Linked DNA regions of Homo sapiens: region 1 is linked to region 2. The links are contacts of gene promoters, found by promoter capture Hi-C in blood cells and fetal thymus (Javierre and others, 2016). All regions are on one chromosome and are shown on one strand. The core of a region is centred on a gene start or on the middle of the fragment in contact, and the rest is flanking DNA. Distances in the headings are between cores, read along the strand shown. Region 1 has its middle 42 kb from the start of TEX2. Region 2 holds the start of SMURF2 (SMAD specific E3 ubiquitin protein ligase 2).

Region 1 (7,266 bases), core at 207-2,706, 350 kb after region 2:
CTAGGGTCGAGGCCCTCTGGGAAAGAAGCAAGGCCAAGGGGCTGGAGTAGAGGGAGGAAGAGGGGAAGTAGTGGAAGATGAGACTAGCTTTACTACTGATTATGATGTAAGAATAGTGGCCAATTTCCTTTCCAACTTGGGCCCGGCAGAATGGCTCCTGCAAAGAAGGGTGATGAGAAGAAGAAGGGTCATTCCGCCATCAACGAGATGGTGACCCGAGAATACCCCATCAACATTCATAAGTGCATTCATGGAGTGGGCTTCAAGAAGCGTTCCCCTCAGGCACTCAAAGAGCTCCGGAAACTTGCCCTGAAGGAGATGGGAACTCCAGATGCACACTTTGATACCAGGCTCAACAAAGCTGTCTGGGCCAAAGGAATAAGCAACGTCTCATACTGTATCCATGTTCGGTTGTCCAGAAAATGTAATGAAGATAAAGATTTACCAAACAAGCTCTATACTTCGGTTGCCTACGTACCTGTTACCACTTTAAAAAAATCTACAGTCGGTGTGAATGTGAACTAACTGCTAATCATCAAATATACCAAATAAAGTTATAAAATTGTTTTTTGTTTGTTTGTTTGTTTGTTTTTTGGGGGGGTGGGATAGAATCTTGCTCTGTCACCCAGGCTGGACCACAGTGGCGTGATTTTGGCTCACTGCAACCCCCACCTCCCGGGTTCAAGCAATTCTCCTACCTCAGCCTCCCTTGTAGCTGGGACTGCAGGCATGCACCACCATGCCCAGCTAATTTTGGTATCTTTAGTACAGATGGGGTTTCAGCACGTTGGCCAGGCTGGCCTCAAACTCCTGACCTCAAGTGATCTGTCCGCCTTGACCTCCTAAAGCGCTGGGATTAGAGGCATGAGCCACTGTGGGGGCCAAAATTGTTTAAATATATATATATATATATATATATATATATATATATATATATATATATATATATATAATAGTGGCCAGGCATGATGGCTCATGCCTGTAATCCCAGCACTTTGGGAGGTCAAGGCGCTTTGGGAGGGCAAGATGGGAGGATCCCTTGAGCCCAGGAGTTCGAGACCAGCCTGGGGAACATACAGAGATCCTGTCTCCAAAAAAATGTTTTAAATTAGCCAGGTGGAGTGGTGCATGCTTGTGATCCCAGCTACTCAGGAGGCTGAAGCAGGGGGATCACCTGAGCCTCAGGGGTCAAGGCTGCAGTGAGCCGTGATGGCTCCACTGCACTCCAGCCTGGGCAACAGAGTGAGATTTTGTCTCAAGAACAGAAGCCACTAATTGTAAATAGATTATAGTTCTTCATAGGCTTGTTCTAAACCCCTGCTACTCAAAGCGTGCTCTTCAAATCAGCAGCATCACAATCACTTGGCCATTGTTAGAAATGCAGAACCTTGGCCAGGACAACGGCTCATGCCTGTAATACCAGCACTTTGGGAGGCTGAGGTGGGAGGATCGCTTGAGCGCAGGAGTTTGAGGCTGCAGTCAGCCGTGATCACGCCACAGCACTCCAGCCTGGCTGGCAGAGTGAGACCCTGTCTCAAAAAAAAAAAAAAAGAAAGAATCTTGGGACCCATTACAGGTCTACGAAACTATAATCCTAATTAGCAAGATCCCCAGATTATGGAAAAGACACCACGTGCCTTTATAAATATATGGGCACTGCCAACATCATATGCTTTACCAAATAACAGCCTTAGTTGATTGAGACAAAACGAGTTTTCTTGCCTTAAGTTGCCCTTTCACAAGGGTTTTTGAGGACCAGGACCTACCAAGTGCGCCACCTGGTGGCAGCACAGATAAAATTTACACTCTAGGACCAAGATCACGTGTAGAATTCAAATAGCATAAAGTAATTATAGTTTTAACACAATTGGCTTGGACTTTTCAAAAATATCCATGTCAGAAAAGATCAAAATGGTCTGAAAAACTGCTCTAGATTAAAAGAGACCAAAGGGTCTGAACCGCTAAATGCAATCTGTTCAAAAAGCTATTCAAGGGCAGGCACGGTGGCTCATGTCTGTAATCCCAGCACTTTGGGAGGCCAAGGTGGGTGGATCACCTGAGGTCAGGAGTTTGAGACCAGTCTGACCAACATGGTGAAACCCTGTCTCTATTAAAAATACAAAAATTAGCCAGGCATGGTGACAGGCGCCTGTAATCCCAGCTACTCGGGAGACTAAGGCAGGAGAATTGCTTGAACCCAGGAGGCAGAGATTGCAGTGAGCCAAGATCGTGCCACTGCACTCTAGCCTGGGCAACAGAGCGAGACTCCATCTCAAAAAAAAAAAAAAAAAAAAAGCTAGTCAAGTACATAATTGGGCCAATTGGGAAAATTGAATATGGAATATATATCACAATATAGTATTAATGTTAAATTTCTTTCTTTCTTTTTTTTTGAAACAGTGTCTTGCTCTGTCATCCAGGCTGGAGTGCAGTGGCATGATGGTGGCTCACCGCAGCCTCAACCTCCTGGGCTCAAGCAATCTTTCCACCTCAGCCTCCGAGTAGCTGGGACCACAGGTGTGCGTCACCATGTCTGGCTAATTTTTTGTAAGTTTTGTACAGACAAAATTTCGCCATATTGCCCAGGCTGGTCTCAAACTCCTGGGTTCAAGTGATCCACCTGCCTCAGCCTCCCATAGTGCTGGGATTACAGGCATGAGCCACTGTGCTTAGCCTAATGTTAAATTTCTCAAGCATGGTAATATACTGTAATTATATAGAATGTCCTCATTCTTAGGGGATACATGGTGAAGTAATATTAGAAATATGATGCCTGCAACTAACTTTCAAAATATTTAGCAAACATTGAAATAATTTTTTTTTTTGAGAGGAAGTCTCACTCTGTTGCCCAGGCTGGAGTGCAGTGGTGTGTTCTCGGCTCACTGCAACGTCCGCCTCCTGGGTTCAAGCAATTCTCCTGCCTCAGCCTCCCGAGTAGCTGGGATTACAGGCGCGCACCACCATGCCTGGCTAAATTTGTATTTTTAGTAGAGACGGGGTTTCACCGTGTTGGTCAGGCTGGTCTTGAACTCCTGACCTCAAGTGATCCACCTGCCTCGGCCTCCCAAAGTGCTGGGATTATAGGCGTGAGCCATCGTGGCTGGCCAGAATAATTTTTTTGAGACAGGATCTCACTCTGTTGCCCAGGCTGGAGCACAGTGGTGAGATCTTGGCTCACTGCAATTTCAACCTCCCTGGCTCAAGTGATACTCCCACCTCAGCCTCCTGAGTAGCGGGTCCACAGGCACATACCACCATGCCTGGCTACTTTTTGTATTTTTTATAGAGACAGGGTTTCGCCCAGGCTGCCCAGGCTGGTCTCGAACTCCTGGCCTCAAGTGATCTGCCTACCTTGGGCTCCCAAAGTGTTGGAATTATAGCCATGAGCCACCACACCCAGCCAAAAATTAAAATAATTTTTAAAAAATGTTTGCGTGTGTGTGTGTATGTGTGTGTGTACAAACACAGAGGAGGAGAGATAAAGCAAATGGGCAAAATGCTAGCAACAAATGAATCTAGGTGAAGGATATACAAGTGTTCATTGTACTATTTCTTGTAACTTTTCTGAAAGCTTGAAATTTTCAAAATTAAAAAAAGGAGGCGGGCACAGTGGCTCACACCTGTGATCCCAACACTTTGGGAGGCTGAGGCAGGCGGATTACCTAAGGTCAGGAGTTGGAGACCAGCCTGGCCAACATGGTGAAACCCCATCTCTACTAAAAATACAAAAATTAGCAGAGTATGGTGGTGGGCACCTGTAATCCCAGCTACTCAAGAGGCTGAGGCATGAGAATCGCTTGAACCCAGGAGGCGGAGGTTGCAGTGAGCCGAGATCACACCACTGCACTCCAGCCTGGGCGACAGAGCAAGACTCAGTCTCAAAAAAAAAGAAGGGAGTATCACTTTTGGATACACTTTAAGTTGCAAGGAACTACTTAAGAAGGAGCCCTAGGATGTGTGGATCAGGCAGAAACAGCTGAAGTAAACTTGAATCCCAACTCAACGCTTATCTCTGTTTCTCTGGCTTATTGTTCTTGAGAGGTTAAAGATCAAACCTGTGAGTAGATAGAAAACTGAAGAGTTGATGTCCTACCTCTCTGGGCTGTGGAAGGAATGGAGGTGGGAAATCAGACACCTGTTTAAAAACAGAAAGGGCCGGGTGTGCTGGCATTTGCCTATAATCCCAGATGCTTGGGAGGCTGAGGCAGGACAATCACTGAGCCCAGGAGTTCAAGACCCTGTCTCAAATAAAAGGTAATTTTTTTTCTTTTTTTTTTTTTTTGAGAAGGAGTCTCGCACTGTCACACAGGCTGGAGTGCAGTGGCACGATTTCGGCTCACTGCAACCTCCGCCTCCTGGGTTCAAATGGTTCCCCTGCCTCAGCCTCCCGAGTAGCTAGGATTACAGGCTTGAGCCACCAAGCCTGGCTAATTTTTGTATTTTTAGTAGAGACGAGGTTTCACCATGTTGACCAGGCTGGTCTCGAACTCCCGACTTCAGGTGATTCACCCGCCTCAGCCTCCCAAAGTGCTGGGATTACAGGCGTGAGCCACCGTGCCCAGCAAAAGATTTTTTTTTTAAGAAAAAAAAAAAAAAGGTGGCTTACACCTGTAATCCCAGCACTTTGGGAGGCCGAGGTGGGTGGATTGCTTGAGCTCAGGAGTTTGAGACCAGCCTGGGCAACATGGCAAAATTTTGTCTCTACGAAAAATACAAAAATTAGCTGGGCATGGTGGTAGGTGCCTGTGGTCCCAGCTACTTGGGAGGCTGAGATGGGAGGATCACTTGAGCCTGGGAGATGGAGTTTGCAGTGAGCCAAGATCGTGTCACTGCACTCCAACCTGGGTAACAGAGTGAGACCCTGTCTCAAAAAAAAAAAAAACTGTCATCATGAAATGTCAAGATCTATCAGTGAATGGAGCTCATTGCAAGTTAGGACTTTCTCAGCCACTCAACATCCATTACTGAGCACACTATGGAAGGATGAAGGGTTGGTGGGTTGAAAGGGAAAGTCTGAGTAGAAGAGTTGAGGGCACTCAGCTGGAGGTAGACTGAGTCCCACAGAAGCATTTCCACTCTGCTTGCTGCTGCACAATTGTGTGTTGACCTCCTTACTCAGAGGGTGGGAGGGCGATGGTCTTTGTTAAGGAAGGGCAGGGAAAGCCCAGGCTCACAGCCCCCTTGGCCTCCTCACCAGGGCAGGCTTAGCCCCTCACAAAGTCTCCAGGGCCAGCAGCCTGGCCTGACGGGCCCATGTGTTCAAGCCCAGGAGAATTTCCCATTCTTTAAGTTGCTGGTGAGGGTGACTCCAGGGAAGGGACCCTGTCTGGCTGAAAGCTTCCCAGCAGAGCCTGAAGAATCTCTTCAGCTCCTTCCCATCTGGTCAGACCTCTCACCCAGACAGTTGCCATCTCTGGCTCTTCATAACTGGCAGTACCCAGTGAGAAAATAACAGAGCTTGGCCCGGCTTAGTGGCTCAGCACTTTGGGAGGCCGAGGCAGGTGGATCGCTTGAGGCCAGGAGTTCAAGACCAGCCTGGCCAACATGGTGAAACCCTGTCTCTACTAAAATTACAAAAATTAGTTGAGTATGGTGGTGCACGCCTGTAATTCCAGCAACTCAGAAGGCTGAGGCACAAGAATAGCTTGAACCCAGGAGGTGGAGATTGCAACAAGCTAAGATTGCACCACTGCACTCCAGCCTGGGTGACAGAGCAAGACTCTGTCTCAAAAAAAAAAGACAGAAAATAACAGAGCTTTAGGAATAAGATGAAGATGTAATCTCAGGCATTAGCATCACCCTGGAATCCTACAGGGGTAGATCCTGCCTTAGTGCAAATGGTTTAGGGGGCCCTTTGATCTTCTCTCTGCCATTCCTATTCCAGCCAATCAGCTTCTTTTATTTTCTCTCTGTTAACCATTAACTCAACATTGCTCTGCCTGACCCCCAGCTCCACCTATTACTTCTGAGCTGATAACCAAGTCAGAGAATAAAATATTATCTTATATTTATATCATGCTTTACAATTGACTGAGCTCTTTCTGATAATGTTCTCAATAAGCCTCATTCTATCATGTGAAGAAGGTATGATCCCATTTTAGAGCAGGGAAAATAAAGTTCAGAGAGGTCAAGCAACTTGCCCATGATCACACAGCTGGTTGACAGAGGTTTTACAACTAGCCCACTTCCCCTGCTATCCAACAACTTAGAGCAGAGGTTTACAAATGTTAGCTGCATATTAGAATCACCTGGAGATCTTTAAAAAGCTGATGCCTGGGTCCCATCCTCAAACATTCTCATTTAATTGGTCTGGGGTGAATTTGGACACTGGGAGGTTTTTAAAGCTGCCCAGGTGATTCTAATGTTTAGCCAGGGCCAAGAATCACTACTAAGCATGGCCTCTCTAAGACTGTCCAGACCTTTCATGGGAAACTCTTTAATACCAAAGCTCTTCAGGAATCAAAGGAATGTTGAATGGTGAGTTTCCGTGTGTGTGTGTGTGTGTGTGTGTGTGTGTGTGTGTGGTGTGTGGTGTGTGTGTGTGTTTCCTTTCTTTTTTTTTTTTTAGATGGAGTTTCACTATTGTTGCCCAGGCTGGAGTGCAACGGCATGGTCTCAGCTCACTGCAGTCTCCACCTCTCGGGTTCAAGCTGTTCTCCTGCCTCAGCCTCCTGAGTAGCTGGATTTACAGGCGCCCACCACCACGCCCGGCTAATTTTTTTTTTTTTTTTTTTTTTTTTTTTTGAGACGGAGTCTCGCTCTGTTGCCCAGGCTGGAGTGCAGTGGCGGGATCTCGGCTCACTGCAAGCTCCGCCTCCCGGGTTCACGCCATTCTCCTGCCTCAGCCTCCCAAGTAGCTGGGACTACAGGCGCCCGCCACTACGCCCGGCTAATTTTTTGTATTTTTAGTAGTGACGGGGGTTTCGCCATGTTGGCCAGGCTGGTCTCGAACTCTTGACCTCAGGTGATCCACCCGCCTCGGCCTCCCAAAGTCGTGGGATTACAGGCATGAGCCTCTGTGCCCAGCCTCAGTCTTTTTTCTATTTATTTATCCACCCTGGCTATGTGTGTTACATGAGGACAGGGGCTCTGTGTGGCATGCCTTTTTATCCACAGTATCTGGCATGTGGTAGGTCCTCAGTGAATATTGATTGAATAAATTATTTCCTTTTACATAAACAGGATTGTTTTGTACAGGGATATTTTTCCTCTGCCTGCTATTCTCATTTAACAGCAGATATTTATTTATTGTCTATACAGGTCTGT
Region 2 (6,266 bases), core at 2,046-4,545:
CATGTCCAATGCTATTTTCCTTTCCTCAAAGACTTTTACACCTGAATGTATATAATTGATTTTACCTAAGATTCCCATCCCTTAATTTTCCGTCTTATCTTTCCCAAGTTCCGGCTATTAATTTGGTAATTCCCTACATGTTGTCATTATAATGTATATATATCCCCCTTTGGGGACATAAACATATCCCCAAGGGAAGAGAAACACATAAACTTTTTTGTTTTTTTAAACTTTCTAACCCAATCGTCTCTGAAATCTGAGCCTGGACTAGATGAGGCCACTCACTTAAGAGAGGCCTTCAAAATGACTTTCCTATTATGAGTATTCTGTTTTTGAGTGCATTTGTTTTTTGAGGTAGGGTCTTACTCTGTTGCCCAGGCTGGAGTGCAATGGCATAATCATGGCTCACTGCAGCCTCAACCTCCTGGGCTCCAGTGATCCTCCCACCTTGGTCTCCCGAAGTGTGGGGATTACAGGTGTTAGCCACCACGCTCTGCCCCTGTTCTATGTTTTCATTTATTTTACTTCATTTTAAACATTTAGTTACTTTTAAATAAATGTTTACAGTCAATGTCAATATTTAAGATGGCAAGGAAAACAATAAAATGAACATCCATGTACCTGCTTAAAAAAATCATTACCAGTACATTGATTTTCTTTTTATTTTTGTGATAGTCTCAGTATGCTGCCCAGGATGGAATGCAGTGGCACTGGAATGCAGTGGTGTGATCACGGCTCACTGCAACCTTGACCTCCACAGGCTCAGGTGATCCTATCTCAGCCTCCTGAGTAGCTGGGCCTATAGGTGCAGGCCACCACTCCTGGCTAATGTTTTGTAGATACGGGGTTTTGCCATGTTGCCCAGGCTGGTTTCAAACTCCTGGGCTCAAGTGACTCCTCTGCCTCGGCCTCCCAAAGTGCTAGGATTACAGGCATGAGTCACCATGCCCAGCCCTTGAATGGTTTTAGTGTTATTCTTATCTGAATATTTGTTTTAAACAACAGGATTTAACCTTACAAGAAAGCCTAAATACAAACCTCTGCACGTTAACCCTATATACATTTTTCTATGCTGTCACTTACATTTTTTAATTTACTGCTTTCAACTTCAAAACAAGCAGTCTCCCCCAGGTCTCCCATGACGTTCTGAAATCCTAACTTCTATTACCTAATACAAGGCTACAAATTATGTTAGTTGGGTGGTTGGGAACAAAGCGTGCTGTAAAAATAAGGCAAATGTGTATGTGTACATTAGTTTGCTAAGTTTTTTGCCACTGTCTGCCCTCTTAAATTGTGGTAGCAGCTATTGTTCACATTGATTTCTATATATTTGTAGTACAAGGAAGCATTTCTAAAGGACCTTGTTCATTGCTTTGCACAAAATGGCCACTTAATATTTGTTGAATGAATTGCTGGCACTATCTCTGGTATTTTAATTTTTATTTATTTATGTATTTATTTTTGATATGGAGTCTCGCTCTGTCACCCAGGCTGAAGTGCAGTGGCGTGATCTCGGCTCACTGCAACCTCCCGTGTTCAAGCGATTCTCTTGCCTCAGCCTCCCTAATTGCTGGGACCACAGGCATGCGCCACCAGGCCCGGCTAATTTTTTTGTATTTTTTTTTAGTACAGACGGGGTTTCACCATGTTGGCCAGGCTGGTCTCAAACTCCTGACCTCAAATGATCCGCCCACCTCGGCCTCCCAAAGTGTTGGAATTACAGGCGTGAGCCACTGTGCCCGGCCTATCTGTGGTATTTTTAGTGTGATGTCTAGAACTTCATATACTTTTTTGGATTACTTTTAATTGTAGGGCTGTATCCAAACTGATGAAATGTTCTCGCAGGTAACTATCTGGAGAAGTGAGTTCACTGATGTATTAAAAGAAATGACTGGCATGGAATAAGGATTAAAATATATTAATCCAAAACATTTAAAATTGCATTAATGTTATAATAGCCTAAAGCAAAACTAACGAATCACATAAAAAATCCCCCACGCTATTGTCCTTAGTAGTTTACATTGTGCTAGATACTTTCGCATGTATATGCATACAACTTCTATTCTGTTTTTAAACTTTGCATTACATATACATTCTTCCATATTATATGATCTTCATAAAAATAGTTACATGGCTGCATAAAAAACCATGCGGTTCCTGGACTATTATGCTATTCCCTCATTCCCCTTTTGTTATTAATGGAATATAGCAAAGAACATCTTCTGTACGATTATTTGTCAAGAATAGGGCCGGTGCGGTGGCTCAGGTCTGTAATCCCAGCACTTTGGGAGGCCGAGGCGGGCTGATCGCTTGAGGTCAGGAGTTCGTGACCAGCCTGGGCAACATGGGAAAACCTAAACGTCTCTACTAAACATGTCTCTACTAAAAATACAAAAATTAGTGGGGCGTAGTGGTGCACACTGTGGTCTCAGCTACTCCAGAGGCTCAGGTGGGAGGATCACCTGAGCCCCGGAAGTTGAGACTGCAGTGAGCCGTGTTCGCACCACTGCACTCCAGCCTGGGCGACAGAGGGAGACCCTGTCTAAAAACAAAAAAATAAAAAATAAATTTCTAGCAGTACAGTTACAATGTCAAAGGATAAGGTACACATTTTTTAAAAACTTTTCTCTTTCTCCTCCTGAGATAACGAAATACAGTAGCGTATGAACAACTCTTCATACATTACTCTCCAAGGTTTATCTTGTTAATCCTTTAAGACGTATCATCTCCCCATCCTTGGCTGCACCTGAAAAGAGCGGGAGTCGGCAGGTAACCTGATCTCCTCCACCAGGTGAGTCCCGGATGGAGGTGTCAACTACAAGACCAGGAGCAGAGCATTCCTGGGGTTTTGCTGGAACCATCGGCGTGGGAATGCTTTCTCTTCCCTCGCCCGAAAGACGCCAAGTTCCCGGCAGGCAGCGGACTCGGTTCTAACCTTCCTCGCCCCAGCCTCTCGGAGCGCCCTGCACGCAGTGGGCGTCTAATAAAATGCAGTTGGCCCTGCTTGGACAAAAGTTCTCCCTTAAGTGGCCCGGACAGTAAACCCCTCCAGGTGCCACAGAGCTGCCGCGCCCGCCGCCGCTTTGCTCCCTGCCTGCTCCCTCCCAGCGTTCCGCGTGGGACCCTCGGCGGCAGCTCACACCCTCCCTGACTGCCGGTGCCCGCCAGGGCACCCTGCGCGCGCCCGCCGGCCCCGCCCCGGCCCCGCCCCGCCCCGCCGGCCCCGCCTCCCGTCTCCTCCCCGCCCCCCGGAGCCGACGAGTGGCGGCGGCGGCCCCAGGTCCCGGGTCCCTCAGACAAGAGGGCGGGTGGAGGAGGAAGCGGCCGAGCCCAGAGTTCTGCTCCGGCGCCCCCGAGCACCGCCCGCTTCAGCCGACCAGCCCCGTCGGCTACTGGGCCTCGCCGAGACGAGAGGAGGGAAAGGCCTCGGCGGCCGCGAGGAGGCGGCGGGGGCGCGGGCGGAGGCGGCGCGGGCGGCCGCGGCTGCCGCTTTGTTGTGCGGCCCGGGCCGAGGAAGGAGAAGTGGGAGGAGGGGGGAGCTCGGCGTCCCGCTCCCTCCGCGGCTCATGGCGACGACTCTCGGCACATCCGGGACCCTCCGGCCGTGGCGGCCGAGGCGCCGGCTGCTCGGGCCCCAGCCCCGGCCGCTGTGGTGACTCCGCCGCGCCTCGCCGTCGCCCCCGTGCCGCCCGCCGCCCCCGCCGCCCCCGCCGCCGGGGACATGTCTAACCCCGGAGGCCGGAGGAACGGGCCCGTCAAGCTGCGCCTGACAGGTGAGGGGGGGCGGCGGGCCGGGCTGGGCAGCCGCGGGGTGGGCGAGCTGGCGGGGGGTGCCTGTGGCCTTGGGAAGGGCCAGGGTCGCGATCAATGATGAGTTGGGGGTCGGAGGAATGGGAAGGCCTAGTTCAGGGAGAGTAATTGGAAAACCACTTGCTCTGGTTTGGACATTGTTTAAAAAGCCGAGGATGACTCGGGGCGGGGGGTGGTGTTTTGTGGAGGGGAGAATACACCGGTTCGCATCGCAGGCGGATTTCAGGTCGGAAAGTCTTGGTCAAGGAGCCAGACGCTGCCTCCCGGGGCTCGGGGAACAGCCCCTGGGCTACCGCCCAGGTGAGATCGTGAAGGGGATGAAGAGCTCCCGTGGCGAGGATTATTGAATCCGGTTGCTGACTGCGCGCAGTAAACACTCCTTAAAGATGGAGCGCTTAACGGGAGGGTGTGCGTGTGTGTTCCCGGGTTGTTACCTTGCACACACCCAGTTATGCCCGCATGAAAAACCTTTACTCCCCGCCGCCGGCCACCGCTGCCCGGGCCACACACCTTAAACTCATGTCTCTGAGGTGAGGAGACAGGTTGACTTTTCCGGTGTGCCTGTCTGATCCGACGGCTTGGGCTCATTGTACACTGTGTTTTGGAAGTGTCTGATTGTAGGGTGGCATGTTTGGGGTTGTTCCTTTTAGGCCGCAGAACTTGTGTCTAACTTCTAACGCCAGACCTGCTTTAAAAACACACTTTTTTGGGGGGGGTGCATTGCTAAGTATGTGCTCATACAAACTTTCGAGCAAACTTTCTGTTACTCTCCCCACCCTCCCCATTCCTTTTTCGAAATGGAAAAGAATGTCCGGAGGGGTTGCCAGATAGAAGACTACACTTACAAAGTGTTTATGATTCCAGGTGCATGAAATCTTTAACATTACAGGTACGTTTTGCTTACAGTGCCATTTTTGGTATTCTTACATGGACATGCCACCCCCGTTTTAGGAGAACTTTTATTTGGTTTGTAAAGGAATTGGAATCACGGCGTTATCCTACCTTCACCATTTACCCCTGATAAATTGTCCACGTTTGTATTCGGGTGAGTGGTGAGAAAGATAATTTTCCGTAGAGGATTTGTGTGTGCGTGCACGTGTACGGATAAACTGTAATTATGTTTGCCCACACTAGACTTTGAGATTTATTTGGACTAATTTTGTAGTTAAATGCCTGTGTGTCACATCCCAGTCCACTGGCTGAACTTGCTGGATGAAAACTTGCAGTGAATTTGGTATTTGAGAATTTAGCTTGAATGTATGTTGGCTGCAATTTAAATAATATATTACTTTCATGGCAGTTTTCCTTTCCCTAGGGAAAATTGCAGGGAATCATTAACTGAGTGATTCTTAATGGAAAACCTGGATTGGAGGATACTTGTATTCCACCCCCTCCCCCCTCATTCAGTGTCCTTACATTGGGAGGAGTCAGTGGAAACCTTTATAGGGGATCTTTGTTGCTTTAGAGTTTATCTGTTGCTGTTGCTGTCTGTAGTCAGTGATCGTGGAAAGAACATGTGATCCCAGGTGTGCAGAAAGCATCAGAAATAGGCTGTTTCCATTTACCCTCCTCTGGGCTATGTAGAGAAAATGAGGGAAAAAATTGGGTTTTTGATTTTCTGCAGATAAGGTTAGTTGAGGTTTTTAGTATGACTTAATAGATCTTAAAGTGTTTATCTGTGGTTTCCGTACTGCCTATGATACATTATAAGAATTTATAATTAAAGTTTATTAAGAGGAAAGATTATGCTTATATTTTAGGGGAAGGGGGAATATTGAACTACATTTATAGTGATTTTGTTTCAGGTTTTTCTGAGGAATTTTAAATACCCTGTGTCCTCTTAATAGTAAAAACAGTTTGAGGTACTCTGAGTTTCTTACAACTATTTGTCTCTGAATAGTTTTCTCTTAAAATTTGACAAATATTAAAAACATTGTCCTTCCTTCTTTGGTTACAGTGGAGTCTCTTCTGTTTTGCCAGGAAAGTTAACATATTTTTTCTTCCATTTTTGTTCATCATTTATAAATTAGATGGTATAGATTTTAGCAAATAGATCTCAAGAGCTGGATTCAATTAGCAGCTTTTTAGGACATAAACATTAAAGGGTTAGATGGAAAAGATTGTTTTGACTGACTGGATAAATGACAGGGCTGTGTTTGATGTGCGTCCAGGAATTGGTCTGGAGCTGGTGCCCAACTTCTCAGTCCATCTTGAGAAGCCAAATAAAATATTTAACCTAGGCCTCATTTTGTTTAAAAAAAAAAAAAAAAAAAAAGTTGATTCTTTGTGAAGACCTTAAGAAATGTTTGGCATACCTTTAGACTAAGTGTTTAACAGTTCATTTAGATCTGGGTTGCCTAATAGAGGAAAAAAAATCACTTAAAAAAAGACAGATCCCACAGTGAATTTATATTTGGTTTACAATACACTTGGGCTATAAGGTGTTTTAAAATTAT

The links. The method cuts DNA at HindIII sites, captures the fragments that hold promoters and counts their contacts. A CHiCAGO score of 5 or more calls a contact.
Region 1: a fragment that was not itself captured here is called in contact with the fragment with the promoter of SMURF2 in region 2 in 1 of 17 cell types (total CD4 T cells); the score reaches 5.4 in total CD4 T cells.

What each region holds. Positions count from the first base shown.
Region 1 is chr17:64,301,575-64,308,840 of GRCh38, reverse strand. It overlaps the pseudogene RPL31P57. Among named protein-coding and RNA genes, the nearest start is that of TEX2, 42 kb to the right of the region's middle. The HindIII fragment of the contact is 4,234 bases long and covers 1-3,573 here.
Region 2 is chr17:64,659,336-64,665,601 of GRCh38, reverse strand. SMURF2 (SMAD specific E3 ubiquitin protein ligase 2) reads left to right here and starts at 3,295. Exons shown (of 19, transcript NM_022739.4): 1 at 3,295-3,773. The coding sequence starts at 3,722. RefSeq lists an enhancer at 2,443-3,001 and silencers at 3,152-3,551, 3,602-3,801. The HindIII fragment of the contact is 18,568 bases long and covers 1-6,266 here.